Regions from separate parts of the Homo sapiens genome. Here regions 2, 3, 4, 5, 6 and 7 are each linked to region 1. Evidence: promoter capture Hi-C in 16 types of primary human blood cells and fetal thymus (Javierre and others, 2016). All regions are on one chromosome and are shown on one strand. The core of a region is centred on a gene start or on the middle of the fragment in contact, and the rest is flanking DNA. Distances in the headings are between cores, read along the strand shown. Region 1 holds the start of LRRC4 (leucine rich repeat containing 4). Region 2 overlaps FSCN3 (fascin actin-bundling protein 3). Region 3 overlaps IMPDH1 (inosine monophosphate dehydrogenase 1). Region 4 overlaps SND1 (staphylococcal nuclease and tudor domain containing 1). Region 5 overlaps PRRT4 (proline rich transmembrane protein 4). Region 6 overlaps SND1 (staphylococcal nuclease and tudor domain containing 1). Region 7 overlaps SND1 (staphylococcal nuclease and tudor domain containing 1).

Region 1 (4,200 bases), core at 1,194-3,693:
TTTATAGAAGACAATCAACATGGCGGCAGCTAGCAGAGTCACTGCCACAAAGCAGCCAATGATGATCTTGGTGGTCTTCATGACTTCATCCAGGCTGGTCTGCATCTTGTCAGTGGTGTCTGTCGCGGGTACTGCCACCTGCTTGGGCACACGGGTAGTCTGAATGAGCACCGTGGTAGAGGTGGTATATGCCGGCTGGTAACCAGTGGACGTGGTAGGAACAGGCTTGTACTTTCGCGTTGTGTCCTCAGGCGAGATCTCCGTGGTCTCCACTGTTACTGTGGTGAAGAAGCTGTAGTTGGAGGTGTTAAGCTCAGCCGTGCTCACATTGAGGTAGGCCGAGGCGTTGGAGTTGCCTGCAACATTGGTCACCATGCATGTGTACACCCCAGTGTCTGAAAGCAGCACGTGGGAAAAGTTCAAGGTGCCGTCGTTGAGGACAGAGATCCTTGGGTGGCGGGAGGCGTGGCTGAGCACTGTCCCATTGGGCAGCAACCACTTCACGGAGGACATAGGGGGAGTCCGACACTTAAGTTCTGCCATCCGACCCTCAGAAATGTTGAGGTCTCGAGGTGCGTCCATGATGAAGGGGGCAGAGCACTGGAAGGAGGCCTGGTCCACCTCCACGAGGTAGCGGCCTCGCATGTGCATGGGAGCATGACAGCGGCCACAGCAGGTGGAATTGGTGGGTATATACTCTCGAAGCCACCAGGCTAGCCACAGAATGTCACAATCACAGTTCCAAGGGTTGTGGTGTAGATGCAACTCCACCAGGTACCTCAGCGGGGTAAAGAGGTCATGGGGCAAAGAAGAGAGGTTATTGTGGGCCAAGTTGAGTTCCACAAGTGAAGCCAGCCCGTCAAAAGCATTCCGCTCAATCAGGCTGACCTGTGAGTTCATGACCCAGAGCTTCTTGAGGGAGCTCAGGCCATGGAAGGAGCCAGGCCTGATCTCAGGGAAGTGGTTCCCTGACATCTCCAGCTCCTCCAGCCCCACCAGGGGGGTGAGATTGGGCATGTCTTTAATGTTGCACATGCCCAAGTTCAGATACTTGAGGTTGAACAGCCCCTCAAAAGCTCCCTCAGAGATATACTCCAGCTTCTTGAGCTCCCCCAAGTCCAGGCGCATGAGGGAGGGCACCCGGTTGAAGGCGTAAGAGGGGATGCTTTCGATGGGGTTGTTGCGAAGCCAGAGCTCCCGCAGCTTGGACAGGTATTCAAAGGCCCCGCTAGGGATGACTGTCAGCCAGTTGTCGAACAGCTCCAGGGTGTTGAGGCTGGCCAGGCCGTTGAAGGCCCCCACCTCAATCTGCCGGATGGAGTTCCTGCCCAACTGCAGGACCTCCAGGTGGTGGAGGTGGCGGAAGGTGTCGGCCTGGATCATCTGGATGTTGTTCTCCATGAGGTTGAGGTACCGGGTGTTCGAGGGAATACCCTGCGGGACCTCGGAGAGGCCCCGGCGCGTGCACACCACCTTGCTGAACTGGTTACTGCACGAGCAGACGGAGGGGCAGTTCTGGGGCCCGGCTGAGGCGGCAGCAGCGATGGCTGCACACAGAATCCACACTTGCGCCGTGAGGTAGACGAACGGGAGCAGGATGGCATTCCAGGTGTGGTGGTGCACAGTTACCTGCCACAAGAGCTTCATGGTGTGGCACGTTCATAATTCACCATCGCCTGGGATTTTGGCTCGGAAAGGAGAACCAGCCCTACCCCGGCTTAAGTGAGCTAGGAGCTCCTCTTTCCATCTGGAGAAGGAGGTGGGGAGGGGGCGATTAGAGAGACGGAGCGGATCGGCCGAAAAAAATCCTGCCAAACTCGAGCGGCCCCTGGTCTCCCAACCCACCCTCAAGGCAAGCCCTCCGAAAGCTACGACTCTCCCACACTGCAACCGTCCCCACCCAGTTCGCCGTCACCTACCTCGGAAGGAAGGCAGGAAAGCACTGGCGTGGTGTCCTTAAGCTTTCTCCACGGGAGCTGGGCACCTCGTTCCCATTCCGACTTCTTAGTTTTAATTAACAAAAGGGGGAAGTGGTGGGGGCGGGGAGGGCAGAGGGGAGGGGAGGGGAGGGGAGGGAAGGGGTGGGGGAGACAAAATGGCCTCTAGTAAATCCGGAGCCGGAGCCGGCGAAGCCGCGGAGTTGAGGCGCGCCTGGGAGAGCCAAGGCCCGGCGGGCTATGCAGGTGCATGCCCCCCCCTCCGCCCAAGGAGCGGCGCCACCAGCGCTTCCCGGCTTTGTCCTTGGACCCTGGCACCGGCTCGCTCCAGCCGCGGGGGAAGGCGCTTCATCGCCAAAGTGCGCTCCGGCGGCCCCGGCCCGCTCTGCGGGCCGCCGCCGGAGGGAGTGCGGGGGCGCCCCGAAGCCGCCCAGGCCGCACTCGCTGGATGCTGCGCTCCCTCTCCCGGCGTCGGCCGCTCCGGGCCGGCGGCAGCTGATTGCGGTCGTGAGCTCGCGGAGCGGCGAGAGTTAAGAGGAGGTGTTCGCGGCGCCTTCGCCCTCCCCAGACACACACCCCCTTTCTCCTCGCCTCTTCTCGGAGGGTGGAAGAGACAAAAACGGGGGGTCAGTTCTCCAGTCCGCCGGCTGCCGGCACGCGGGGCGGCGCTCCGTCCGGCCCCCGAGGACCAGCGGCGTGGCGGCTGCGCTCGGACCCGGTCCGCCGGCCGGAGGAGCGCGCGGCGCCCGCGGTCGCGCCCGCACCGCAGGCCCCTTCAGAGAGTCCGGGGGCGGGCGCGGGTCCGGCGGCGGCGGCGGCCGCAGCCCCCGGCGGCGCGCAACCGCCCGTCGCCGCCCGCCGCTGCCCGGCCCCCGGCGCGCCGCCGGCTCCGGCTTTGTGCGGAGGGAGCGAGTTCGCGGCTTCGGCTCCCGGCGCCCTCAGTGGCCGCGCCGCCAGCGGACTGCTGCAGCGGCGTGAGCAGCGGGGGTCGCGGCTGCGGGAAACGCTCCGGAGCCCAGGAACATAGTCCCCGCTGGCTAGCGGCGGCAGCAGCAGCAGCGGGGCCCCTGCGCGCGGCGCCCACCGTCTCCTCCTCGCGCCGGGCTCGCGGTGTTGCAGGCGGCAGCCACGCAGACTGCTCTCTCATCCTTTTGTCCTTCAGTCAGAACGTGAATGTACTGCTGACGCATACTGTTCTGGGAGAAGATTAGCGTGATGCAGTGCTCTTATGTATTAGCGCCGCTCCCCCTCCGTCGCCTGCCTCGCGGGGTTAACGCCGGCGCCTTCCAGCGCCGCGCCGGCCGGCGCCGCGCAGCCCCGCGCCTCCGGCCGCCCGTCTTCCTCTTTCCTCCTTCCTTCCTCCTCTCTTCCTCTCTCCCCCTCCCCCCTCCCCCCTCCCCGGGCCGCTTCCTCCCCGCCCCCTCTAGACGAGCGGAGCGGGGCCAGGGCGAGCGGGCGAGCGAGCCGGAGTGAGCGTCAAGTGAGGGGCCGCGCGCAAGTCGCAGGCGTTCGCAGCTATTTTGGGCCGGTCGGAGGGAGCAGTTGGGTGGCCGCTGATAGGCTGGAGCGGCGCGGGGCTGCGGCGGGAGAGCCCGCGCCGGCCCCCGCCCTCCGGCCCGCACCCGGGGCCCCCTGGCTCTGAAGAGCGGGGCTCAGGGGCCCGGCGGCCCGCGGCGGGGCTGCTGCATTTGGCCTGCCTCTCGCCCGGCCCGCGTCATCCTCACCCCCGCTGACTGCTGACGGGGCGCGGACTCGCGTTCGGAGTTCGGAACTGCGTGGTGGGGACTCGGGGGACGGCGGCCGGGGCCACGAGGCTCCCAGGACCGAGAGCCCGGGCTTCGCTGCTGCACTGCCGCCAGCCCCTCCTTCGCTTTGCCTCACCCCTCCTGTGCTCTCACTGGGGCTTTAAATGAGGGTTTCCTTAATGAGGGTTGCGGGGGCGGGAAACAGTGGCAGGAATGACCAAGTGTGATGAGCTGGGGAATGGCAACCTGGGACAGCACAGAGGCCGGCAGGAAGGATTGAGGTGAACTCCCGGAGCCCACGACACAGCCCGTTCATTCATGGAGCTGCAGCCGCGGCTTCTCAGTCTTCGCTGGCCGGAGTCGCCCCTTGCTCCCCGCTGCCCCCAGAGAACTGGGGGAAGGGAGGCGGGCGGCTGAGCCCCCTGCCCTGTGAGCTCGCCAGCCCTTCCTTGGCTAGGACTCTGAGAAGAACTGCGTAGCAGCCAGGGGTAGCGATTGGGAGTGGGGGTGGAATTCTT
Region 2 (4,200 bases), core at 1,012-3,511, 430 kb before region 1:
CATTGCCACCACTTGGCTCCAGGCTTTTCTCCAGAAGCACTGCTTCTAGGGCTCCCCGAAAGCATTTCCTGCTGCCAGATCTGTCCATCCAATCTCATCTCCGACATCCAATCTCATCTCCACAGTTTGCTTTTATAACGTGGCGCTTCCCTTCCATCATTCCCTGTTCACACTCTTCAGGGCACCTTGTTGCTCTTTGTCCTGTCCCTTCCTAATGGACCTCACTTTCCTGACTTATTGTGCAAAGTGCTTTGTTTTTTACATCACACAGACCTGGAATCAAGAGCTATTAAGCTTCTTCCTTTAAGTTAACTTCACATGTGTCTAGGGTGGATCCCTCATCAAGAATAGGATAAATCACTATATTCTTTTTCTCCCACAGGATCTGACCCAGTATTCTAAAAGCCAGAGATCAGCAAATGACTGACTTGATTGCTGACCATTTATATTTCCTCTTTCCTCTCCAGGTCAATGGGATGTCACCTACCAAAATCCAAATCCTCCAGGAAAAACTACTACACTAAATGGACCAGGAACCTCAGAGTCAAGATCCAAGAGAAGAACATCTGTTACAACTTTTCCTACCCAGTTTAGCAAAACACCTGTTTTATGCAACAATACATCACAACAGGCCACCCCCAAGATCCTTGTGTGCATCTGACTCAATATAGAATAGGGGTCTGGATGAGGGTTGAAACAGACACCCCAGGCTGCTCTAAGTTCTATACAGGAGAGACCAAATGGCAAGCAGTTCTTCCACTGATCTTCCCCGTCCCCATCCAGAACTGCTAGACTTTTTCCAGTGAACCCATGAGCAGCCAGCATTGCCCTGAAGGGTTTAGAATCCAGTTATGACTTTAAATATCTTTTTGGTTTAGAAAAAAGGAAAGATTGTTAATCTCGTGAGCACAGGATAATGGTAATAACACCTTATGCCTGTATAGGCCACTTTACCTCCTCCTACCACGATTTATTTAACTTCCCCACCCATCATTACCTTTTTTCCAGTGAAGTGGGTACTTCCTCCACCACTTCTTACCTTTTTTTTTTTTTTTTTTTTTGACAGAGTCTTGCTCAGTCACCCAGGCTGAAGTGCAGTGGCAGTGGTGTGATCTTGGCCCACTGCAACCTCCGCCTCCCGGGTTCAAGCAATTCTCCTGCCTCAGTCTCCCAAGTAGCTGGGATTACAGGCGCCCGCCACCACCCCAGCTACTTTTTTTTTTTTTGTATTTTTAGTAGAGACGGGGTTTCATCATGTTGGCCAGCCTGGTCTCGAACTCCTGAACTCAGGTGATCCACCCGCCTCGGCCTCCCAAAGTGCTGGGATTACAGGTGTGAGCCACCGTGACCGGCAGACTTCTTACCTTTCACAGACAGCAAAAGTGATTTGCCCAAGATCTCATGACTAATCACAACACAGCTAGGCTTCTGACTCAAATCCAACTCTAATGTCCACCATTCTTTCAGTCAAAGCAGGATTTCCAAAATGTCTGTCATTCTTACACTGTTTTTGTGATTTTGGCCTTTATCTACCTACCATCTGCCCTATTAATGTTTTTATTGACATAGACTCTTAAATACATTTATTTAGAAAGGAATATTTTTTCACTATCATAAAATGGAAAACCAGTATCACTTACCATAAGTGGAAAATGACTATAAAAATAAATACAGGTATACCTCAGAGATATTGTGGGTTCAGTTCCAGACCACTGTGATAAAGCAAATATGGCAATAAAATAAGTCACACAAATTTTTTGGTTTCCCCAGACATATAAAAATTATGCTTACAGTATACTATGAAGTATGCAATAGCATTATGTCTTAAAAACAATGTACATACCTTAATTTTAAAATACTTTATTGCTAAAAAATGCTAATGATCGGCCGGGGGCAGTGGCTCACACCTGTAATCCTAGCGTTGGGCATTAGGGAGGCCTAGGCAGGCAGATCACTTAAGGTCAGGAGTTTAAAACCAGCCTGGCCAGCATGTTTGAAACCCCATCTCTACTAAAAATACAAAAAATTAGCCGGGTGTGGTGGCAGATGCCTGTAATCCCAGCTACTCGGGAGGCTGAGGTAAGAGACTCACTTGAACCCAGGAGGCGGAGGTTCCAGTGAGCTGAGATGGCGCCACTGCACTCCAACCTGGGCAAAAGAGCAAGACTCCATCTCAAAAATATACATATATATGCTAATGATCATTTGAACCTTCAGTGAGTCATAATCTTTTTGCCAGTGGAGGATCTTGCCTCAATGTTGATGGCTGCTAACTGATCAAGGTGATAGTTGCTGAAGGTTGGGGTAGCTGTGGCGATTTCTTAAAATACGACAATAAAGTTTGCTGCACTGATTGATTCTTTCTTTCACAGATGATTTCTCTGTGGTGTGTGATGCTGTTTGATAGCTTTTGACCCACAGCAGAACTTCTTAAAAAGTTGGAATCAATTCTCTCAAACCCTGTTGCTATTTTATCAATTAAGTTTATGTAATGTTCTAAATCTTCCATTGTCATTTCAGAAATGTTCACAGCATTTTCAGTAGGAGTAGATTCCATCTCAAGAAACCACTTTCTGGCCCGGCGCGGTGGCTCAGGCCTGTAATCCTAGCACTTTAGGAGGCCAAGGCGGGCGGATCATGAGATCAGGAGATCAAGACCATCCTGGCTAACACAGTGAAACCCTGTCTCTACTAAAAATACAAAAAATTAGCCAGGCATGGTGGTGGGCGCTTGTAGTCCCAGCTACTCGGGAGGCTGAGGCAGGAGAATGGCGTGAACCCGGGAGGCAGAGCTTGCAGTGAGCCAAGATCACACCACTGCACTCCAGCCTGGGCAACAGAGCAAGACTCTGTCTAAAAAAGAAAACAAAAACAAAAAACAAAAAACAAAAAAAAAACACTTTATTTGCTCTTCCATAAGAAACAACTCTTCACCAGTTCAAGTTTTATCACAAGATTATAGTAATTCAGTCTCATCTTCAGGCTCCACTTCTAATTCTAGTTCTCTTGCTATTTCACCACATCTACAGTGGTTTCCTCCAATGAAGTGTTAAATTCTTCAAACTCATCCATGAGAGTTGGAATAAACTTCTTCCAAACTCCTGTTACTATTAATATTTTGACCTTCTCCCATGAATCATGAATGTTCTTAATGGGCATCTAGAGTGGTGAATTCATTTCAGAAGGTTTTCAATTTACTTTGCTTGGATCCATCAGAGGAATCACTAATGTAAGACAGGTATAGCCTTATAAAATGTATTTCTTAAATACTAAGACTTGAAAGTCAAAATTACTCCTTGATCTGCAGGCTGCAGAATGGATGTTAGGTTAGCAGGCATGAAAACAACATGAATCTCCTTACACATCACCATCAGAGCTCTTGGGTTACCTCTCAATTAAGGCATTGTCAATGAGCAGTAATATTTTAAAATCAATATTTTTTTCTGAGCAGTAGGTCTCAATAGTGGGCTTAAAATATTCCATAAACCACGCCATGAACAGATGTGCTGTCATCCAAGATTTGTTGTTCCATTTACAGAGCACAGGCAGAGTAGATTTAGCATTATTCTTCAGGGCCCTAGGATTTTCAGAATGATAAATGAGCACTGGCTTCCACTTAAAGTCACCAGATGCAGTAGCTCCTCACAAGAGAGTCAATGACTGTCTGTTGAAACTTTGAAATCAGGCATTGACTTCTCCTGTGTAGTTATAAAAGTCTAGATGGAATCCTCTAATAGAAGCCTGTTTTATCTATATTGAAATCTGTTGTTTCGTATAGCCACCTTCATCGGTGATCTTAGCTGGATCTTCTAGATCTTGCTGCAGCTTCTATAATACATCAGCACTTGCTGCTTCACTTTGCACTTTTATGTTATGGAGATGGCTTCTTCCCTTAAGCCTCATGAACAAACCTCTGTTAGCTTCAAACTTTTCTTCTGCAGCTTCCTCATTTCTCTCAGCTTCATAGAATTGAAGAGAGTTAGGGCCTTGCTCTGGATTAGGCTTTGGCTTAAGAGAGTGTTATGGCTGGTTTGATCTATCCAGGCAACTAAAACTTTCTCCTGTCAGCAATAACACTATTTTACTTTCTTATCATTTGTAGGTTCACTGGAGTAGCCCTTTTAATTTCCTTCAAGAACTTTTCTTTTGCATTCACAATTTGCTAATAACTGTTTGGCAAAAGAGGCCTCACTTTCCACC
Region 3 (4,200 bases), core at 1,179-3,678, 360 kb after region 1:
TGGCCAGGGACAGGGGAGCGGCCTGAGGAGCAGGACCCAAGGGTAGCCCAGGGCCGGGGAAGGGGGCAGAGACCTCCCCTTGGCCTAGGTCAGGAGCTCAGAAGTGCCACATGGCTGAGGGGCAGCGGCCCGGGAAGGGCCAGAGGCAGGGCCAGGAGAGCACCATTTCCTGGGAGGCTAGGGGCAGGGAGGTGCCCTACAGGAGAAGCCAGGAGGGGCCGCCTGCCCCTGGGGTGGGGGCCAGGCTGGAGCAGGCTGCAGCAAGAAAGACCTGAGGCAGGCGCAGGGCCTGAGAGCCTGGCTGGCTGGGCTCGGAGGGGGGCTCCCAGGGCAGCCTGGCCCCGGGAGCAGTCCTGACTCTGCAGGGGATGCCGAGTGAGGGGCAGCAGTCCCCTCAGGACCTCCCCTCCTCTCTGCCTGGAAAGGAGCTGGAGAACCCGTAGTGCAAATCTGTGGACCACTCAGTTATGGAGGGAGGCTGTGCCCAAAAGTGGACACTGGGGTGCATCCCCTCCACCACCTCGGCCTCCACCGCTGTCCTCAGTACAGCCGCTTTTCGTAACTGTGGGGACAAGGCAAGAGGGGGAACAAGAGTGGGTGTGTGGACCCTGCTCCTTCCCAAAACCCTTTCCCCAGGGCCCCCAGATGTAGGAGAGAACAGAGAGCTGAGAAGCCCTGAGATCTCAGCCGTACGGCGCAGGAGGAGGGCCTGGAGCAGGCCCTAGGCCTCTGTCCTCCCCCAGGCCAGCATTCCCTGAAGAACCATGCTGGGTGCAGAGATGGCCATGCTCCTTTGGGCCATCGCCACATCTGAGTGGATGTCCTCAGTGCCCAGGGTGGAGGGACAGCTCAGGCAGGCATGGCCCATCCTCATGGAGCAAACTCCAACCTGGAGCCGAACCTCTGCTGCCCATGTCCGCACCCAGCCCCAGCCCTGCAGGCACAGTGGCCTAGGCTGCTTGTGGTCACTGGGTCCAGTCTAAAATGGGGCAGCCTTAGGCCTGAGGTCACGGGCATCTCTCTGCAGCCAGAAAGGGATATGTGTTTCAGCTGGATGAGGGGACACTGCTGGTTTCCTCCATCATGGTGTTGGAGTTAGGGGGCCGGGGGGGCCCAAACCCAGGGTCCACATCTCATGGTTACACCCCAGCACCCTCCTACCCCCACCCAATACCCACCCCCACCTCCAGCCCAGGTCCCACCCAGACTGCCCCTGCTCTACTCTACGCTTGGCCCGGGCAGCGCGGTTACTTACACGGCAGAAAGGTATAGCTACGGAAGGGTGGGGCGGAAAGAGACACAGGTTAGACGCCCGCTGATACCTGGGGACAGGGCTCCTGACCAGGGTGGGGCACATGCCTGCAACTACTGCTGCCAACGAGCACTGCCCCCGCCCACGGTTGCCCCAGCGCTGGCCCTGGCGTCCATCTCTCTGCCCTTGTACCCGCCAGAGGGGTCACACCCGCATCTTCTGCCTGGCTGCCTGGTGCCACCACAGCCCCTGCCACCAGCCACCAAGCTTCCTGAGCAAGCAAGGGCTGGGAGTCCAGGTGCAGTGACTGGCCACACCTCCTGTGCCCTGCTCGGGAGAGGCCCGAGGGGAGGGGAGGGCCTGCTTGCATGGGGACTAAAGGACAAGGAACAGGGGGCTGGGCCCCCGAAGAGAGGGTGAGGGGCCATCCTGCAGCAGCATCTGTCCCTGCTGCAGGTGGTCCATGGGGTCCCTGGAACCTCAGCTTGACCTCAGAACCCTGGCCCCACCTGCCCAACCCACTGCCTCCAAGTGACAGCAAGGAGGCCACCACACTTACGAGTGCAGGCCATGGACACCACCCTCAATCTGGGCCGACATGGTCCGCTTCTCAAACTTGAGCTCTCCTGAGTACATCATGGACCTAGGAGGAAGGTAGGTGGAGCAGATCAGGGCCACCAAGGGTGGAGAAGAGCGAGAGAAAGGAAGCAGGAGCCACCCCCAGTCTCAGCACTCACCGAAGGACAGACAGGCTGCGGGCCCCGATATCCTGGCAGCCGTGTTGGATGCCTGCTATGAGGTAGGGCACGAACTTCTGAATGGATCCTTTGTCCTGGATGGAGCCCGAGACACCCTGCGCGATCTTCACTTTATCCCCCTCGCTGCGTGGAGGGTGGAAGACTGAGCCCAGCAGCTTGAAGCTCAGAGGACCCCACCCCACCTCTTAAGGGCAAAAACGGGATACCGCCCAGGAAGGTCCCCCAGGCCACCCCTCACTGGGCTGAGTCAGATGGCCCAGGGACAGATCCTGGGTCTGCTACTTAAGCCCTGTGCCTCAGTTTCCAGAACCACCATATGGGGACTGGCTGCCATCTGGGGAAGTCGGTGGCATGAGCGGGCCCTGAAGGGTTGTGGGCTGATCTGCCCAGGTGGGGCCCAGGGTCAGGGAACCTGAAGTATCGTTTCTGGCTGCTGCTGCTCTTCTCCATGGCATCCAGTGAGCCCATGCCCCGGTACTTCTTGAGCCGCACCCCGTCTGAGAAGAAGTACTCGCCAGGGGCCTCCGTAGTGGCGGCCAGCAGGGAGCCCATCATCACTACAGTGGGCAAGGGATTAGTGCCTCCAGCCCACTAGTGCCACCCCCCCAGCTTCCAGCCCTCGCCTGCCCAATCCCCAGCACATTCTCCCCTCACCTGTGGAGGCTCCAAGGGCCAGGGCCTTGACCACGTGTCCCACGGTCTGGATGCCGCCATCGGCTATGATGGGCACACCAAAGCGCCGGGCATACTCAGCCACCTTGTACACAGCAGTGCCCTGGGGCCGACCACAGGCCATCACTGGGGGAGGGTGGGGTGCACAAGGCAGAGAAGAGTCAACAGCAACTCCGGGGCCTGGAGCGGGGCCAGCCCAGCTCTTCCTCCTGTGCACTACCTCTACTCAGGAAAAGGGACAGGGCTGGATGGTGTGTCTGAGGCATAACATAGGTGCTGGCAAATACCACCAGGATGAGTGTCACTCTAGGGATCTGGGCCACCCCACCCCTAAGAGCATGACAGGGGATTCTGACGGGGGAACCAGAAGCGGCCTTCAGAGCCCAATGCCCCCAGACAGGTGGCCCCAGCCTCACCTGCTCTCAAGGCACAAGTTCCCCTTCAAGGCTTTTGTTTGCAAAAACCGTTACCAGGGTTAGGTACTATGGTCCCCTTTGGGATACTGGTTTGCATTTCTTCAAGTCTAAGTGTCCAAGGTCCTTCAGTGTTAGGTTTTAGGTGGGGACTACAAGGAACCACACCTGTCTAGGGACGGATGCAAAGCTGGATAAACCAGAGATGGCGCCTCTCATTTGTTTTGTCCCTACTCTACCTCAAAGCTTTGAACAGTGCCTGAGACAAGTAGGTGCCTAATGAATATTTGTTAAGTGGGTGAGAGAGGGCCCTCATTTCACCATGGTGGCCACCTAAGGCGAAGGGCACAAACCTAAATAGCAGAGGCTCTGAGGACCAAAAGGGGGAGCTGTTTGGGGTAGGAAAGGCCAAATGCATCACTCAGTGTTTTGGAGAAATTGCCCTCACAGGAGGGGCCGGGTACATCTCCTCAGGCCAAGTGAGGACCCAAGTCTTCCAGGCAGCCACCCCACAAGTCAGATACCAGCCTCCAGGGAGCACCTCCTCAATAACCACATGGGGGACACATGCCAGGCTCCCCCCTTCCCACTTCATGTTCAGGAACCCACCCTGCAAAAGGGCTTTGTAATTGGGTGGAACTCCCCACGCCCAACCACATGGTGAAGCAGGTGTATAACATATCTTTATATATTCAGGGACATGTCGTCTCTGTGTCTTAAATATCTGCCTTGTCACAAATCAAATCCAAACCCTGAGGTTCCAACAAGCCCCATGGACAGTCACACCAGCCCCAGGCCCCAAGCCCCAGGCAGAGCCCCCTTGACCGCACTCTGAGAAGCAGGCTGCAGCTCTTGCACCCTGCTTACACCTGCCTTCCCCTAAGTCAGTGGGCCCGATGGGGTGGGGCCCATGCCTGGGTCACCCCGGAGCCTACCATGGCAGAACAGGGCCTGGCAGAGAGAGTACTTGATATACATCTGGGGAACAAAGGCGAGGCCCCGGGGCCAGCGGGCACTCGCTCACCTCCTGACACCCACCTTCCTGGGTGATGCAGATGGAGCCGCAGCCCATGCCCACGCGCAGCCCGTCCACACCAGCATCAAT
Region 4 (4,200 bases), core at 805-3,304, 350 kb before region 1:
CTTCTGGGGTGAGTCACCATGCCTGACTTTTGCTTCTCAGGCAGCTGCCATTTAAAAAAATTTTTTTGTTAATGTTTTTCAGCTAGCATCTAATCTTCCTGCAAGAATATGGAAGGCTCTATAGTAAAATATACATTTTATGTCCCCATGTTTTTGTACTTCTGTGTTGGACCTTAAAATTTTTTTTTTAGATATAATTAACATACCATAAAGTTGACACTTTTAAAGTATATAATTCAGTGGCTTTTTACTACAATCATGTAACAATCACTACTAATTTGGAATATTTTCATCACCTCCAAAGAAATCTGTATCCATTAGTATATTCCCCACTCTCCCCTTCTGTCAGTCCCTGGGAACCACTAGTCTATGTTCTGTCTATGGATTTCCCTTTTCTGCACATTTCATATAATGGGAACAGTTCAGTATGTGGCCATTTGTGTCTGGCTTCTTTTACTTAACATAATGTTTTCAAGGCTCACCCATGTTGTAACATCAATCAGTACGCAATCTCTTTTTATTTCTGAATTATATTCCAATTGTATGGATATACAATATTTTATCACCAGTTACAGCTGTTGATGAACATTTATTGTTTTCTCTCTTTTTTTGGCTATTATGAATGATGTTGCAATGAGCATTGGTGTACAAGTTTCTGTGTGGGCATATGTTTGTATTTCTCTTGGATATATACTATCGGGGAACCTGCCCCTGATAGTCACGTAGGTTCTTTTCTATTTTCCCTAAGCGTCGGCTGGTTTGAGAAATAAAGGGACAGAGTACAAAAGAGAGAAATTTTAAAGCTGGGCATCCGGGGGAGACGTCACATGTCGGTAGGTTCCGTGATGCCCCCTGAGCCGTAAAACCAGCAAGTTTTTATTAGGGATTTTCAAAAGGGGAGGGAGTGTACAAATAGGGTGTGGGTCACAGAGATCACGTACTTCACAAGGTAATAGACTATCACAAGGCAAATGGAGGCAGGGCGAGATCACAGGACCACAGGACTGGGGCGAAATTAAAATTGCTAATGAAGTTTCAGGCACCATTGTCATTGATAACATATGGAGACAGGGTTTGAGAGCAACTGGTCTGACCAAAATTTATTAGGTGGGAATTTCCTCGTCCTAATAAGCCTGGGAGCGCTATGGGAGACTGGGGCTTATTTCATCCCTACAGTCTCGACCGTAGAAAACGGCCATACCCAAGGGGGCCATTTTAGATGCCCACCCTCAGGGGCACATTCTCTTTCTCAGGGATGTTCCTTGCTGAGAAAAAGAATTCAGCGATATTTCTCCTATTTACTTTTGAAAGAAGAGAAATATGGCTCTGTTCCGCCCGGCTCACCGGCGGTCAGAGTTTAAGGTTCTCTCTCTTGTTCCCTGAACGTTGCTGTTATCCTGTTCTTTTTTCAAGGTGCCCAGATTTCATATTGTTCAAACACACACGCTCTACAGTTTGTACAGTTAACGCAATCATCACAGGGTTCTGAGGCGACATACATCCTCCTCGGCTTACGAGATGACAGGATTAAGAGATTAAAGTAAAGACAGGCATAGGAAATCACAAGGGTATTGATTGGGGAATTGATAAGTGTTCATGGAATCTTCACAATTTATGTTTAGAGATTGCAGTAAAGACAGGCATAAGAAATTATAAAAGTATTAATTTGGGAACTAATAAATGTCCATGAAATCTTCACAATCCACGTTCTTCTGCCATGGCTTCAGCTGGTCCCTCCGTTCGGGGTGCCTGACTTCCCGCAACATATACACCTAGGAGTGAAATCACAGGGTCATATGATAACTGTTTAACTTTTGAGAAACCTCCAGACTCTTTTCCAAAGCAGCTACACCACCCATAATGTATGAGGGGTCCAGTTTTTACACATCCTTGTCAACACTTGTTATTGCCTGTCTTATTGATTTTAGCTATCCTAGTGGTGGTAAAGTGATATGTCATTGTAGCTTTGATTTGCATTTGTCTGATGACTAATGATGAAGAGCATCTTTTCATGTGCTTTTTGGACATTTATATTTATTTTTTGGATAAATGTCTCTTCAACTTACTTTAATTGGGCTATTGTCTTCTTATCAAATTATGATAGTTCTTTATTCTGGATACTAGACCCTTGTCAGATATATGAGATAAGAGTCTAGTATTCAGAATTTGCATATACTCATATTTTTTTCTTTCTTGATAGTGTCCATTGAAGCACACTGTTTTTAATTTTTATGAAGTCCAATTTATTTATTTATTTTTAAGTTGCTTGTGTTTTTGGTGTCACCTAAGAAACCATCACCTAATGCAAGGCCATGTAGATTTACAGGTTTGTTTTCTTCTAAGACTTTTATAGTTTTACTCTTAAATTTAGGTCTCTGGTCCTTTTTGAGTTATCTTTTGTATATGGTATGACGTAGAGGGCCAACTTCATTCTTTTGCACATGGAGATCTAGTTGTCCCAACACATTTTTGTTGAAAGGACTACTCTTTCCCCATCAAATTATCCTGGCACCCTTGTTCAAAGTCAGTGGGCCATAAATGTATGGATTTGTATTGGGCCTTCTTTTTGTAATATTTGTCATCAGATGTCTGCCCTTGTTCTTTATGTTGGTTCTTCACACAGGTAGATATTGCTGTTACAGTATACCTACTATACTATCTTAACTAGTGGATATGCCCGTTAAACCAGTCCTCTTTGCAGAGCTAGTAAGATGCCATTCTCAGACCAAAGTGATTTTTGCTCTTGGGCTGGGAAAAAATATTGGCTTCATTGACATACAAATTTCTGTACCATCCTTTTCTTTGCCCTTAGTATGGCTGGGTTTTTGTATAAGAAGTTTTCTGTCTTGTTGTGTCATTGGCCCAGGAGTTAAATAGTTAAACAAACCAAGTCATTTATCAGAATCTAGTGAAGATTTAATGTGGTGTTCCTGTTGCTGGGCAACATTTTAGTGGCTGCCCATACAGTGTTTCACTGTAGGTAAATCTCCCAGTAAACCCATAAGTGGGTTTGAACAATTTGAGTCCCCAATTTTCCTTCTCAGCTGCCTTGTTTCAGCCTTTGTAACCACGTGACTTGTGCCCTGAAGCCAGGTCCTTTGAATCACACCACGTCCCTCTGCAACCTTTATTGGCAGAACTGAGAAATGTCTAATCCATAACCTCAATCAAACTGACTTATTGTGACACCTGGTTTCACAAACCTCCTGCTGTATCAGGTAGTTCTAAGATCATTTTTCTAGAATGTCAGTTTATTAATATAATTGCATAAAGCAGTAACCATTTGACTTGATTTCTGTGCTCTATAAATTAGCAATTAAGGATAATTACTGCATCCATGAAAGTTTGCAACATGAATCAGCACAGCTTTGGCAGACTAATTACCTATGACAGTTTCTTCTCAATCTTAACATTATTCTCCTGAAATTAAAATTCTGGTAAACAACATATTATACTTACATGTGATGTTTATTGTTTGTCTGTCTCCCCCTACTAGAATGTCAGCTCCCCAAGAGCAGAAATTTTTGTCTGCTTTGTTTCACTGAAACATGCCACTTGCCTAGAACAATGCCTGGCACATAGTAGGCACTCAGTAAGTTTGTAGTGAATTAATAACTGAATAAATCAAGGAATAAAATTATAACAATAATCAACCTGGCAGGTCTTTCTGAGAAGAAAAACGGCTTGTTTTGGTGCCATATGACATATAAATTGTTGAGCATATAGACCCTTGGCCTTTTTCATATTTTACCCAGACATTTAAAGTATTTTTCCCCCAGAAGGTATTTCTCATTGGTTTTATTTGGTGGCGACTGTTAGCTATAAGAAGGCCATTACAATGTTTTCATTGAGGAAGAACTTGAATAAAGACTGTTGGCGAGTAAGACAGGTGGGAGAGTTTAACAGTGGTTGGCAGATGAAGTGGAAATAGCAAAAAGGAGGTGTAGTGTGTTTCTGTTTGTTTCTTTGTTTTTTTGAGAGAGAGTCTTGCTCTGTCACCCTGGCTGGAGTGCAGTGGCACAACCATGGCTCACTGCAACCTTGACCTCCCAGGCTCAAGCGGTTCTCCTACCTCAGCCTCCCAAGTAGCTGGGACTACTGATGTGCACCACCACACCCAGCTACTTTTTTTGATTTTTAGTAGAGATGAGGTCTTGCTGTGTTGTCCAGGCTGGTTTTGAACTTCTAAGTTCAAGCAGC
Region 5 (4,200 bases), core at 1,018-3,517, 320 kb after region 1:
AAGACACATGCAGCAATCTTTATTAAATAGCAGGTGCTGTGCTACCCTGCATCACACCAGCAATGTGGCTTCCAGGGGAAATAAACTGCTGGCCTCCTCCTCATCCATCACTGTGCAGGAGCCAGGAAAGGAAGTAAGAGAGGCCTGGGCTGTTCTCAGCCAGCCTCTTCCAGATCCCATCCCTCTAGCTCCACTCCCCCTGGCAAGCTAAACCTTCTTATAATACAGAATAGTTCTTGGCCTTAACACTTGTCACAACTATAATTAATTACTTGTGCTATTGTGATTATTTATGTCATTAGTTGTTTAACATCTGCCTTCCCCCAACAGGCTTTCAATTTCGTAAATTCATGGCTGGTGTCTACCTCGTTCACCTGTCTATTCCCAGCACCTAGTACGTCATAGGCATTCAGTAAATATTCTTTAAGAGATTGAATGAATGAATAAATGAATGAATGTGAGTTTGTCTTTCAGTCCCCACAATACCAAGACTTGGAACTGAAGGGTGTAGGCATTAGGATCTACCTGGATTCTTCCTGGGAAACCCACTCTGGGTAAGGGATGAGGCATGAGACAAAAGGAAAGGATCCTCTAAACAAAATCTTGGCCTCTTTATGAAGTAAAAGGGCTGAGGTTATCCTTGCTGAGGAAAATCAAAGAAGTGTTGGAGCTGGTGAACACCGAGCTGTATTCCCTCAACTCCCTCCTGCCTCCCCCCAACTCCATTTAGAGCTGCCATACAGAAAAGGAGTGTATGTGCAGAAGTGTGTGTGTGTGTGTGTGTGTGTGTGTGAGAGAGAGAGAGAGAGAGAGACCAATAGACAGGCCAACAGAGAGACTGGCTAGGGTATTCAGGGCTTGGACTGCTCTTTCGGGAAGTGTGTGCATGAACCCAAGGACCCTTGTTGGGGAGAGTGAGTGAGAGAGACAGGAGCTGGCAAGGACCAGTGTGAGGAAGAGATGGCATCGAGGAGCTGAGTGTGAGCAGAGGCAGATGAGAGGCAGATAGAAGAGTGAGTGGGAAAGAAAGGGAGCAGTTTCTCAGAGCAGCAACAATCCTTGCATGACACAAAGCAACTCTGATGCTGGGCCCACTGCAGCCACTATGACACCAGTGAGAAATGCCTGTAATTAGGAGGTTGGCAGTTCTCTGGGCCTCAGCCCAGAGTGAGGATGCAGCAAGAATTTCTGAGCCAGGTGATGGAGGAGACGCAATCAAAACCATTCTAGTCCCATCCCTCCACCGCACCGGCACCACCTCCCTCCCATTTCTCTTCCCCACTATGATTCTCTCTCTCCTCCAAACACAACTGATTCTCCTCCTCCATCTGAGGTCCCAGGCCCTGGACGCTCCTCTCAGCCAAGACAGATGTTCATCTGCAAGGAGAGTAGTGCTTGAATTCTTCCACTCCTGCATTGGACCTGGTCTGGCCAAGGGCTCTACCCTCTCCTGGCTTCCCTGCCTGCTTCCCTCTTGGCTCCCAAGCCTCCCTTCCAGTCCCCAGGAGCTGATGGGCAAAGTTGGAAGAAAAAAATCACGAGGTTCCTGTGCTTCCACTTTGAGCCTAGTGTGTATGCTCCTGCAGGTCTCCCTGTGATATGCAGGACAGCTGCCAAAACACTGTCAGATTTTTGTTTTCAAACCTAATCCACAACCCTGTTTTTGTGCTACTCGGAACCACCGCATTTTAGCCAAATGACAAACACACACCACAGAGCGCAGAGCCAAATGCTCCAGGCAAGGGAGGGATTACAGAGTGCCTGGTGGTTGGATGTGTTTGTGGGTCTCTCACTGTGAACTTTGCTACAGGAGCTGGCTGGGCTGGACAGGCTTTCTCCAGGGAGGATCTGCACCTATTAGAGATGAGAGTTCTTCAGGAGAAGGGGGAGGGGGTTGAAGAGCCCCTGTTGGTGGGTGAAAAGGTAGAAAGGTAGTTTCCTCTTTGTGGATCCCAAACTGTGGGAACATGGCAGGGAGGCTGCTGAGGATCCCAGCTCAAGGTGACCAGGACCTTTTACATGCGTCTCAATATTTCCATGAAGGACTTGACTCCTAACTAGTCCCCAGCCAATTGTCTACCAGGACCTGAAGCCAACTCCTAAGAATGCAGGCATTTCCACCAATGACAGTAGAGTTTCTGCCTCACCTCCCAGGGCGATGTCCCATCTCTGTGAAAAGCCACTTCCCAACGATTCAGAAGAGTCTTCAAGGGGCTGCTCCCAGTAACCCCACTCATCCCAGAAACAGGACAAGACTCGTTGGTCTTGTATGAAGGTCCCTGGGGTCTGGAATGGACCCACCCCACCCAAGAGCTGCTTCTCTTCCACTAGTGATGGAATCACTGGTGCTGTTGCTCAATTGAGTTTTCCCAAAAAAGTCAGACCTTGCTCCTCTGAAAATATTTTATTGATAAATTAAGAGCATTCCCCTCCCACCCAACTGCTATAAAGTCTCCTAGATGGGTCATGGACCCCTGTGGGTGTCACATGGAGGAAAGGGAGTCCCATTCACACAGGGGTGGGATTCCTAGGCATGGCAGAGGTGGGTAGGGGGGCCTGAGGCAGGTCCCAGGGTCCTCTGAGGACAGCCCCTCTCACTCAGCACCAGAGTGGGGAGTGGTGGTCAGGAGTGGAGCACCTTGGAGCTTTATTGCTGGTGAATGCCAAGGAAAATGGGACCCCTGCCAACCTAGATTTGCAGCTGAGGGCATCAGCACCCAGGGCTCCAGAGAAGGTGGCACTGATTCCCAATCGATAGAGCCTGGCTGCTGACCCACCCACCCAGGGACCCCTGGATGGGGAAGGAATCTGGAGAGGTATCTGAGCCAGGGAGGATTGGGGAAGGATTACAGTGTGCAGGTCTCGGGCAGGGCAGGCGCCAGAAAGGGGCATATCGCAGGGTAGCAAGGTGGCCACCTCTTCACAGGTCTATGGTGTCGCTGCCCACGCTCAGCTCGTCGATCTGTCGGCAGGCGTCCAGGAACTGCTCCTGCAGCAAGGCCTCCTCGGCCTGCAGCTCAGAAGCAGGCTCTGGGGAGTCGCGAGAGGGTGGGGACAGGGCCTGGTAGGATCCTGAGGCCGGGAGGCTGGGGCTGCTTCCTGAGGGCCGCGGGGGACTGAGGACGCAGACCAGAGGGCAGCGCGGGGGCCTGTCGGGGCTGGAACACAGCAGCATGGACGAGCTGTCCCGCGAGAGTCCGCAGAACGAGCCAGATGAGACGCTGCTGCCTGCGGGCCAAGCCCCAGGGGAGGGGAGCTCCGGGGGCGCAGCGGGGCCAGAGGCCTCCCCTGATCTCTCACTGGCCCTGCCCCCGGTCCCCAGCGAGGCGGTGCGGTAGAGTCCGAGCCCAGGCAGAGCGTCCTCGAAGGCAGGGCCCTGGAAGAGGCCAGGCGCAAGCAGGGCCTCGCTGCAGAGGGCCTCCTCGATGCTGCGTCGCAGGTTGATTGGGGAGGGCGGGCGGAAGTCCACGGTGTAATCGCTGCAGGGAGAGGAAGCCGGGGACGGGGCCGGGTTGGCCGCCGCGCCTTCGAAGCCCCGGCAACCTCCGCCCTGGAGTAGGAGGTCTGGGCCTGGCCCTGCCAGCGCGCACAGCTGCAGCAGCTCCGCGTCCCCGCGAGCGATGGCGCTCCCCAGGGGCTCCTTGTCTGGGGGCCCAGTGACCCAGCCTCCCGGCAGCAGCGGAGCCGCGTGGCCCGGGGACAAGCGGAAGAGCTTGGCCCAGCAGCGCGGCGGCACGCGAGGACTGCAGAGCGCCGGGTAGAGGCCCAGCAGCGCCAACGGGAGCGCGACGCCCACCTCGCCCAGGCGCAGGCCTAGCTGGAAGGCCCACCAGGGCCAGGGCCCTTCCAGGCCGGATTGGCCGCCGTAGCCCAGGGCGTGCAGCACCTCATAGCCCTGCAGGGCTCCGCTCAGCAGCCCGAAGGTGCCCGCCACCGGGGCCGTGCGCGCCGCGCGCCGCCAGGACTCCCGAGGGGCGAAGGGGCTGCGCCCCTGCGGCAGGGGTGTGGCGCCCTTGAAGCCCGACCCTCCCAGGGGCGCCCCGGCCCGCCGCCGCCGCCCGCCCCAGCAGGAGAGCGCCAGCAGCAGCCCGGAAAGGAAAGCGGCGAGAAAGGCGTGCAGCCCGCGCGAGGCGAGCCGCAGGGGCCGCAGCGGGCGATGCGCGGCGCTCCCGAGGGCGGCGGCGGCCGCCAGCCCCAGCC
Region 6 (4,200 bases), core at 958-3,457, 310 kb before region 1:
AAAAAAGGCATTGAATATAATTGGGCAAATTGTAGACTGCTGGCTGTATTATGCGTTCTAGCTACAACACTGATGTGGTAAGATCCCAGTTTGAATGGAGTTTTATTCTGCACACATTGTAGAATGTTCTAATAACCTTCACAGAGGAGTATTTATGCTTTTGTCCTTTGACTACATACCCTTGTAATTTATCCCAGACTAGTTCTTTTTCTTCTGAGCGTGGGGTTCTGTGTTACTGATCTTGGGTTCCAAAACAAAGATGTCCGTAGTAGTAGTGCTCTGAAAAGGTGGCTTTCAGAGTATCTGAGGTAATATCTCAGTAATTTCATGTTTCTGCCTGTGAGATTAACAGCTGAGCATCTCCTTTCCCATGCTGAGATGACAATTCTTTTTGCCCTTCACTTGCCTTTGATTTTTCTGCTCTCTATTGGGGCATCCTATTTTGGTTCTTTCTCATCTAGTGCTGGTATCTTCTTCAAATCCAACCCTTGCCTCTTTTTCTAGATTCACATTGAGATTTTGATTTTAGTTTAGAAGCTGTTTCAAGGAAAATCTTCAATTACATGTAGAGACAGGATTTCCAGTTCTTAAGCTTTGTAGTGAACCACAAATCTTTGTCAGGGCAAAAATAAAAAAAGATTGACCATCTTTATGAATGATACAGATTTTGTCTCATTGAGAAATCATAATAAGGTCTCTGGGAACTGATAATTATAGCATAGTTTTCTCTGACATTGTTGCACCATGAAGGATGATACTGTTTTTCCCACAAATGGCTATTGATCTCACTTTCTACCTGTGAGGGTGGTGGGCCTTGCTCTTGGACATGTGATGGGGGCCATAGAAGCAGGTTTAAGCATGTTCCTTTTTGCTCACAGGTGATGCAGGTTCTGAATGCTGATGCCATTGTTGTGAAGCTGAACTCAGGCGATTACAAGACGATTCACCTGTCCAGCATCCGACCACCGAGGCTGGAGGGGGAGAACACCCAGGTGAGAATAGGGAAGCAGCCGCGCCTCTTTGCATAAACCAAAAGGAAGAAGTTGGAGAATTGATTAATATATGACATATATAATACATATATGTGGGAATGCAAAGGGACAAGTATTTTAAATCTCCACAGTATTATTTTCTAATATTTATAGCCTGACTACTATTGGGCAGGTCTCAGTGTCTTGTGGCCCACACCCACTGCTCTGCCGAATTTCACGTGGGCACTGTTGGCACTTCTCCCCAGGGGGCTTGAGTGCAGTGAGGGTTGGGATATGTGAGATGGTGGATGAGTTTAATTAACAAGATCTTATTTTTCTGTGAATAAGGAGAGGAGAAGGTCTGTATCTCGTGTACATTGTAATAGGACCCGTTTCTGCTGGTCATTTTGATTTGATAGTTCTTTATGTTTTTGCTCTAGGAAGAAATGAATCTTGGTATATGTATTCACTGGGGTCACCTACTCATTTTTTGCAGGTAGTAACTCTAATTAGTAGTTAAACTGTTTGCTATTTTTTGGATCTTTTGGCAGATAGGTTGGTGTATGACTCAGGTATATCATTTTTGAGAAATGCTTTGTATGAAAACTCTAACAAGAGCTGGTATTACATGTGCAGATAGACTGATTTTTTTTTGTAGTCATGACAGTTATGTAGCCATAAGAGTTATGAGAATTGGGAATAGGGATTAAGGTTGAAAATTTTTGGGGATTTGGTTATGTCATATTTTTACAGACGTCTTTCCCGCTTCTGTTTTTGTCGTCTGATAACTAAACTGTGTGATTATGTTAACTAGTTATAGAACTAGTTCCTCAGTGAGAGCCAGCGCCAAAGGCAAACATTTGGACAGTTTTCAGTAATTAACTATTGTGGATTGAAGTTACTGCTGTGTGTACTATCTACTGCCTGCTTTTTTTTTTTTTTTTAAGAAACAGGGTCTTGTTATGTTGCCCACACTGGAGTGCAGTGGCTATTCACAGGTGTGATCATTGCGCCCTGCAACTTCAAACTCCTGGGCTCAAACAGTCCTTCTGTCTCAGCCTCCTGAGTAGCTAGGACTATAGGTGTGAGCCACTGCACCCAACTTATCTACCTTTTTTTTATTTATGCCTTTATACAAAAAGGATGGGATAAAAAAAATCCCTTTTGTATAAAGGGATAACTAAAAAAAGGTAGATAAGTTGGGTGCAGTGGTTCTAAAGGTGTGAAATTTGCTATTCTGATGTTTTGCACATATACATATCTTGGTGCATTCACAAGTTGAAATTCAGCATTGTTTTCATTTGTGTGAGAGTTTATAGACAGCCCGTAAGAGTAAAATAAAAATATGATTGTCTTTTGAATCAGATCATACATAAAAACCACGTACAGGATGGGTGATTTGAATGTCTGGCCAATCAGTTCTTTCTCTCTCTTTTTTTCCCTTAGAGGAGGCAGTTTAATGCAGCAAACAGTATTATGGTAAGGTTGAGAATTTAAATGTATGAAAGCCTAGAAATGCCAAAATAAGGTTCTCTCAGTAACTGTAGCTCTGCCTCATTGCACAGAGTAAATACACATCTCCAATTTTATCAGTATTGGGAGTAGTCCACAATTCTGCATCTGTGCCGTACAGTTGGAATTAAGGTTCCCACAGCAACCACAACTTTGAAATTCTTGAACGTTAATTTTTGTGCCTGTATCATCAGCCAGTGCATTATGTTAATGTAGACTATATAGCTGAATTTTAAGCAGTTTTTAGGGGGATGGGGGTGTTATAGCTTAGGTAGGATGATAGCAGGTTTTCTGAAGTAAGCACTAACCTACTACTGAGTATTTTTAGTCCCAGTATCCTTTGGAACTCATCAGTGGGTAAACGATGCATTTCCCTTAGCCTACTGGCTGACAGGAAATTGTTGGAATTGGAGTATTTCCTAGTTTAGGCAGAATCCTGATTATAGAATTTCTTGTCTCTTACAAGGCGTGTTACCTCTTTTTTTTCTTCTTTTTTCTTTATTCTTTCTTTTTCTTCCTGTTCACTCCTGAGATCTTACTCCATTTTAAGACAGTTCTAAGTAAGACTTAGCTGCAATAATCTACAACATATGGCTTGTGAGGAAGATGGAGGAATGATTTCCATTATTTGTCTGTTAAAGTCCTTTGGAAGAGTTTACTGAAGGGCCACGTAAGAAATAAGTTAATATAATGAACCTTGAATGTAGTGGTAGAAGGTACCCTGAAGAGTAGCCGGTTTTGGTGGGTGGTCTGGGTGATCTTCCCAGGTCAGCTGCTGTACCTTGTGAGTGTCAAGGATGAGAAGTGAGTCAACAGGAGGAATGGCTCTCTAGGCCAGCGCTGTCCAACAGATATATAAATATGAGCCACACATGTGAGCTCTATTTGTTATTTTAAATTATCATATAACTACGTTAAAAAACTAAAAAGAAACATTAATTGTAATTTTTAAATTTGACTTATATCCAAATTATTATATCATTTCAACATTTAATGAATATGAAAAATAAATGAGACGTTCTTCCCCTTTTTAAAACTGAATATTTGAAATATGGTATGTATTGTACATTGGCACTACATTTTAATTCATCATAGCATATTTCAAGGACTCAATAGGCACATGAGGCTAGTGGCTACCATTATGGATAGCACAGCTTTAGAAATTTGCATGAACAGGTAGTCATTGTTGGTACATATTTACAGATACTTATTTTGTGCCAGATACTGTGTTGGGGGTGCAGCAGGGAATAAATAGATGTCCCTTCTCTGCCTCATGGAACTTTAGAGTCTAGTAGGGGAAATACACAAGTAATTTCATTTACGTTAAGTGCTATGAAAGAAAAGCTTAGAGTTTAGGAGAGTGCATAGTTTGGGAAGGCTACTTTGAGGAAGTGACATTTAAGGCCTGAAGAGATATTAGGAATTAGCTAGATAAAAAGTGGGAGAAGACAGTTTCTGACCTGGAGAGCAGCAATGACAAGAATGAGTTTTGGGGACTAGAGAATGGATGGCTCCTGTGGACGGTGCATGAGTGGTATGACACCTGTGTGGTACGAAACCACAGGCAAGGCCAGATCAAACATGTCCTGTGAACATCTTAGGATACTCAGGAAGGGAGAGAGAAAATGGGGCATATGATGAACTGCAAGTGATTTTGTATGACTGGAATAGAGGATAAATTTCAGGGGAGTGTTAAGAAATGGGCCTGGGAGTTAGA
Region 7 (4,200 bases), core at 1,128-3,627, 290 kb before region 1:
AAATGCCACATTCCAAGTTGGACTTGGTCCTCTTGCCCTGGAAGCCTATTTCTTGTCCTAGGTCTGAGGGTTTAGTACATGGTTAAATTGCTGGCCAAGGTGCTTCAGACATTCTTTAGCACCTGCCTCTGTCTGGACAAGGAATCAGGCAGGGGCTGATGAGAGTGGTCTCTGATATGTGGTCTCTGGAAATTCTTTTGGCCCAAGTCTTAAAGTCATGGTGGTAAAAGGTTGACTAGAAGAGAGCCTCTGAGTGGAGAGACATCCTATGCACAATGCTTGTTCTCTTCTCCCCTTTCTTATTGCCAGCATAAACAGTTGCACTTCTGGCTGGCAGATTCGCCCTTGCTAAGTCTGTGCTCAGGTTGCTGTCCATGATTAAATTCTCGCTGCCTGCAAGCACAGATTCTAGGTGTTGTTTTAAGGTTCAGGGCAAAACAGTTTTCTGTAACCTCTCCTGCTGTAAGGGTAACTGGCTATATTTGTTTGTAATGGACACATGTCTGGCTGTGTGTGTGTTTGTGTGGACTACCTTTCTTTTATTCATTAGGCATCTATTGAATGGATAAGGTTTGTAAAAAAGCCATTTTCTTTAGCAAGTAGCTTGGGTATTTTTTTAAGCGTTTATTTTTCATGTGTTGATTTGGAATAAAAAGCACACACAACTTGGAATGAAATAAAAGACTAATGAGAAACAAAGCCATGAACTCATCAGTGTCTCAACTCCACAAAATTAGAGTCCCCAAAGAATCACAGCAACTCATCTGTGTATCAAGCAGCAGAACCGATTATTGCCTGCTTTGGGTCTGACTCTGTAGCAACATGGCTCAATCAGCAGAATAATGCAGAGGAAAAATGTTAAGAATAGATGCTTTTAATGCAGCTCTCAACCCCAGTCTGCACATCAGAAATCACCCAGGTAGCTCTTAATTAGTGTACATGCCCCAGGTCTACTGAATCAGAATTTCCAAGGGGGTGGGGGGTGGTCTAGTAGCTTTTCTTCCCTCCACCTTCCAAAGCTCCTCAGATGCTTCTGATGTGCAGCTAGGATTGAGAACCACTTTTTAGTGTGTCCTGGGTGTCTGTGGTAGAAGTGGAAATCTGGTGAGATTGATTCTGGATGGGAGTCTTAAGCTTGAAAGTGATGACATCAAAACCAAATCAAATCTTATAGATGCAGATGTTGTTTAGCCTGCTTTAAGACTTATATAAAGTAATCATATTCTTTTACACTTTGGAGAATTTTTACTTATTCCATAATAAAGATGTCATAGCCACTCATTTCTTTAACGATGAGTTTAAATATTTCCCATCTGGAAAGCTCTTTCCTTGAAAAGGTTTATTACTTCTCTGTCTCCTCTGGAAGTAGGGAGAGAAAACCATTAACATAATAATAGTGTCTGACTTCTCTTCTCTGTCCTATAGTTTGTGCCAGTAGTTTCCTTAAGAGCCATAATGTGGCCTGATTTATGAAACTTACCTGGGAAACTTTTATTCTCCCGTAAGAATACCTGTAACATAATCAGGATACTTAGGTGGGTAAATTTCATTCCAGGCTTGATTTGCCTTATATATAATTAACTTTCTCAAGAAGTAAAATCTAAAATGACTCTTAAATATTGAATGTGATTTTATAAGATGGCTCCTTGAAATGCCCTTTTCCCCCTTTGTCCTTTACCTGTTTGTTTTTTGTTTGTGTACTTGTTCTTTTACCTTAAAATCGCCTGGGGGAACTTGAGAACAAAATAAAACAACCACTGCCCAGGCCTCAACTAAAATAATTAAAGCAAATCTCTGGGAGTGGAGTGCAGGCCTTGTTGTACCGCAGGTGACTCTAATTCTGAAAGAGGCTTGCAAGCCCCTGTGTTGACTGTTGCTTGGTGAGGTGCTTCTCTACTAGCCCTTTCTCCTCCTTCCTCACTCTTTGCTAACATTGCCTTCCGTTGTGTACCTGTTATGGCCCTTAGGAGACCTAATCATTTCACTTCTGCAGGTGACTTTAAAAGGCCCACTTGTTAGAATGGAACACAGTAGATTCCTCTATTTGAACTTTGCTTTTAATAAATGATGACACTATATGCTTATTTAGTGTTCTTTTGGGGTAGCTCAGATCTCCTTAAAAGTCTTATTGTTAATCCCCTCAGTGTTTCCCGAGAGTGAGGTAAGGGTTTCCTTGTTATTAAATCTAATACCCTGAAATTGCTGGGCTCTGTTACATTGTTCTCAATTGTTCTCAACTTGAATGCTGTCCCTATCAGGTTGGACAGTTTCCCAGAATGCCTTTCTGGTAACCGAGCATTAAGATTTACAATCTAGCTTTTCTTAGCCAGAAGGTAAGTCTTGCAGGGACTTCAGAAAGGTGTTCTTTCTAATCCTTAGTGAAGAGATCTACTTGATGGGCAGCTGGTAGCTGGGCCTAGGTATTCTTAGAAGAAGGATGTTGTAATGTTAGCATTAGTGTGAAAGTCTGCATGAACACTGGGCTGATCCAAGCCAGAACTGATGAGTCGAGAGGACAACTTGTGCCACCAAGATGTGTCTCTGGCTGATGTTTAAATTGCATCAAATTAAAGGGTATTTCTCATTTTCCATTGTGGTGTCACCAAAGGGCAGAATTAGTGTCATTTTCAGTAGCTTTGAGCCTCTGCAACTGTCACTCTCCCTGAGGGTCACTAGAGATAGTAACTCACATTCTGAAGAGGCCGGAAACCTCCCTGTTGGATGACTTCTTTGGAGAATTATTATTCCAGATCCACTGAACCCTACTCACCTTCGTTTTTCCTGCAATACTTTTTTTTTTCCTTTTTAAAAATCTAGAGTAGGAAAAACTTCCTATTAATGCCTGTCTGTCATACTAATAGGGTAGAAGATATGGGCGGGTGGGTAGTGGGATGGCGGCAAGTACCATGTACCTTTTCTTGTGTGAAAGTGCTCCACAAAGAATGGCCCATGGGAATGTTTTAACTGTGTAGTCATTTTCTAAAAGTTTAGTTCATCGGGTGGTTTCTTCGTCTTTCTTTCCTCTGAGTGTTGTGTTAGGCATGAGGAGGGGCACAAAGGTATGCAAGATGAAGCCCCTACTGTGTGGTGGTGGGAATAACTCAAGCACATGCTAATCAAGGCAGCTTATGATAAGATGCAAGAGGGACACACCCCAAGTGGTGTGGGCATTCAAAGGAGAAAGAAATCCCCTTTGACTTGTTCTTTACCACTTGGATTCTAGTGGTGTTCCTGGTTTATCTGTTGTGAGGTAGAAACCAAAGTACAGGGCATGCAGAGACTGTTTATCACTGGGCACAGTTATGGAGGTAACTAACATGTTAACCCCCCACCCCCATTTTATTCTTGCTTCAGGAATTTTTGTCTCTGTTTTCTCCTTGTAAACTCTTTTGCCATCCCCATTGTTGTAGAAGCCAATCTCCTACCCAGACAAACAAACTTAACTTTTTTGGTGGAAATTGATGGTGAGCCTGTTACAAGGGATGGAACTAAATTGTAAGAGTGTCCAAATCCCACAAACCTGCCAGGTGTTGGTCATTAGGTACATGTTTGAATGTTTTCAATTTGAAGAGATTCCTCTACAGTCTGTGGGAACCTCGGTGTGCAAGGTGTTTTCCCTTGAAGCTTTCTTTGCCTCTTACCTAGACATTTTGTGAAGGCTTCTCCTCAGGCAGCCCTTGTCATTTTGCTGAATGTCAGCAAACATTTACTGTCACTGCTCTGATGTCAGGGAGGAAGGTGATGCTTTTACTTTCTAGCAAAATAGCCCCCAACGTTTTGGTAGCACTACATTTAAAGGTCACCACCCTCTCTCTCCTTCTCTTCCCTCCTCTGTCCTCATTGTCATCTTTATAACCTGTCCCTTCTGAAAGTTGTTTTTGAAAAAGCATTGAAGCTGTGTTTTAAAGTGATTGGATTCAGTAAGTCTGAAGGTGCTAGTGTTGATGGTGAACTTGAGATGGTCACCTTATTCCTTAGGAGGAAGTTCATGGTTTCTGGCTCTTGGAAGAAAGTGGTTGTGTGTATGTATGCGTGTGTTATAAGGGGAATGTTTTTGGCTTAAACTATGTACGCCTATCAGGCTTGGGTTATTTCACAGTTTGAGCATATTGTAATTCTGAGTATTTTTCCTGTTGAAATTGGCCAAGGCAATCATGGCTATGGTAGAAGTCTTATCTGCTGGTGACATCACATTCTGCT

What was found. Contacts are between HindIII fragments. The CHiCAGO score rates a contact against its expected background, and 5 or more counts as called.
Region 2: a fragment that was not itself captured here is called in contact with the fragment with the promoter of LRRC4 in region 1 in 1 of 17 cell types (M2 macrophages); the score reaches 6.1 in M2 macrophages.
Region 3: a fragment that was not itself captured here is called in contact with the fragment with the promoter of LRRC4 in region 1 in 1 of 17 cell types (neutrophils); the score reaches 5.5 in neutrophils.
Region 4: a fragment that was not itself captured here is called in contact with the fragment with the promoter of LRRC4 in region 1 in 1 of 17 cell types (M2 macrophages); the score reaches 5.7 in M2 macrophages.
Region 5: a fragment that was not itself captured here is called in contact with the fragment with the promoter of LRRC4 in region 1 in 1 of 17 cell types (neutrophils); the score reaches 5.5 in neutrophils.
Region 6: a contact is called between a fragment that was not itself captured here and the fragment with the promoter of LRRC4 in region 1, in 14 of 17 cell types (M0 macrophages, neutrophils, M2 macrophages and 11 more). The highest score is 14.3, in M0 macrophages.
Region 7: a fragment that was not itself captured here is called in contact with the fragment with the promoter of LRRC4 in region 1 in 9 of 17 cell types (M0 macrophages, M1 macrophages, neutrophils and 6 more); the score reaches 9.5 in M0 macrophages.

The regions. Positions count from the first base shown.
Region 1 is chr7:128,028,994-128,033,193 of GRCh38, forward strand. It overlaps LRRC4 (leucine rich repeat containing 4), which reads right to left and starts at 2,444. Exons shown (of 2, transcript NM_022143.5): 1 at 1,920-2,444; 2 at 1-1,747. The coding sequence starts at 1,647. All of the region lies in intron 16 of SND1 (staphylococcal nuclease and tudor domain containing 1), which reads left to right. RefSeq lists silencers at 2,888-3,007, 3,658-3,727. The HindIII fragment of the contact is 11,709 bases long and covers 1,960-4,200 here.
Region 2 is chr7:127,601,156-127,605,355 of GRCh38, forward strand. FSCN3 (fascin actin-bundling protein 3) reads left to right here. Exons shown (of 7, transcript NM_020369.3): 7 at 468-989. Among named protein-coding and RNA genes, the nearest start is that of FSCN3, 9.5 kb to the left of the region's middle. The HindIII fragment of the contact is 3,939 bases long and covers 293-4,200 here.
Region 3 is chr7:128,392,467-128,396,666 of GRCh38, forward strand. It overlaps IMPDH1 (inosine monophosphate dehydrogenase 1), which reads right to left. Exons shown (of 17, transcript NM_000883.4): 12 at 4,134-4,200; 13 at 2,665-2,808; 14 at 2,423-2,567; 15 at 1,990-2,133; 16 at 1,812-1,895; 17 at 1-562. The coding sequence ends at 541. Among named protein-coding and RNA genes, the nearest start is that of IMPDH1, 15 kb to the right of the region's middle. The HindIII fragment of the contact is 1,822 bases long and covers 1,518-3,339 here.
Region 4 is chr7:127,679,258-127,683,457 of GRCh38, forward strand. The region is part of intron 1 of SND1 (staphylococcal nuclease and tudor domain containing 1); the gene reads left to right. Among named protein-coding and RNA genes, the nearest start is that of SND1, 29 kb to the left of the region's middle. The HindIII fragment of the contact is 4,364 bases long and covers 1-4,200 here.
Region 5 is chr7:128,347,936-128,352,135 of GRCh38, forward strand. It overlaps PRRT4 (proline rich transmembrane protein 4), which reads right to left. Exons shown (of 6, transcript NM_001174164.2): 6 at 2,390-4,200. The coding sequence ends at 2,921. Among named protein-coding and RNA genes, the nearest start is that of RBM28, 6.1 kb to the left of the region's middle. The HindIII fragment of the contact is 5,699 bases long and covers 1-4,200 here.
Region 6 is chr7:127,720,409-127,724,608 of GRCh38, forward strand. It overlaps SND1 (staphylococcal nuclease and tudor domain containing 1), which reads left to right. Exons shown (of 24, transcript NM_014390.4): 10 at 879-992. Among named protein-coding and RNA genes, the nearest start is that of SND1, 70 kb to the left of the region's middle. The HindIII fragment of the contact is 3,235 bases long and covers 591-3,825 here.
Region 7 is chr7:127,739,707-127,743,906 of GRCh38, forward strand. All of the region lies in intron 10 of SND1 (staphylococcal nuclease and tudor domain containing 1), which reads left to right. Among named protein-coding and RNA genes, the nearest start is that of SND1, 90 kb to the left of the region's middle. The HindIII fragment of the contact is 2,490 bases long and covers 1,133-3,622 here.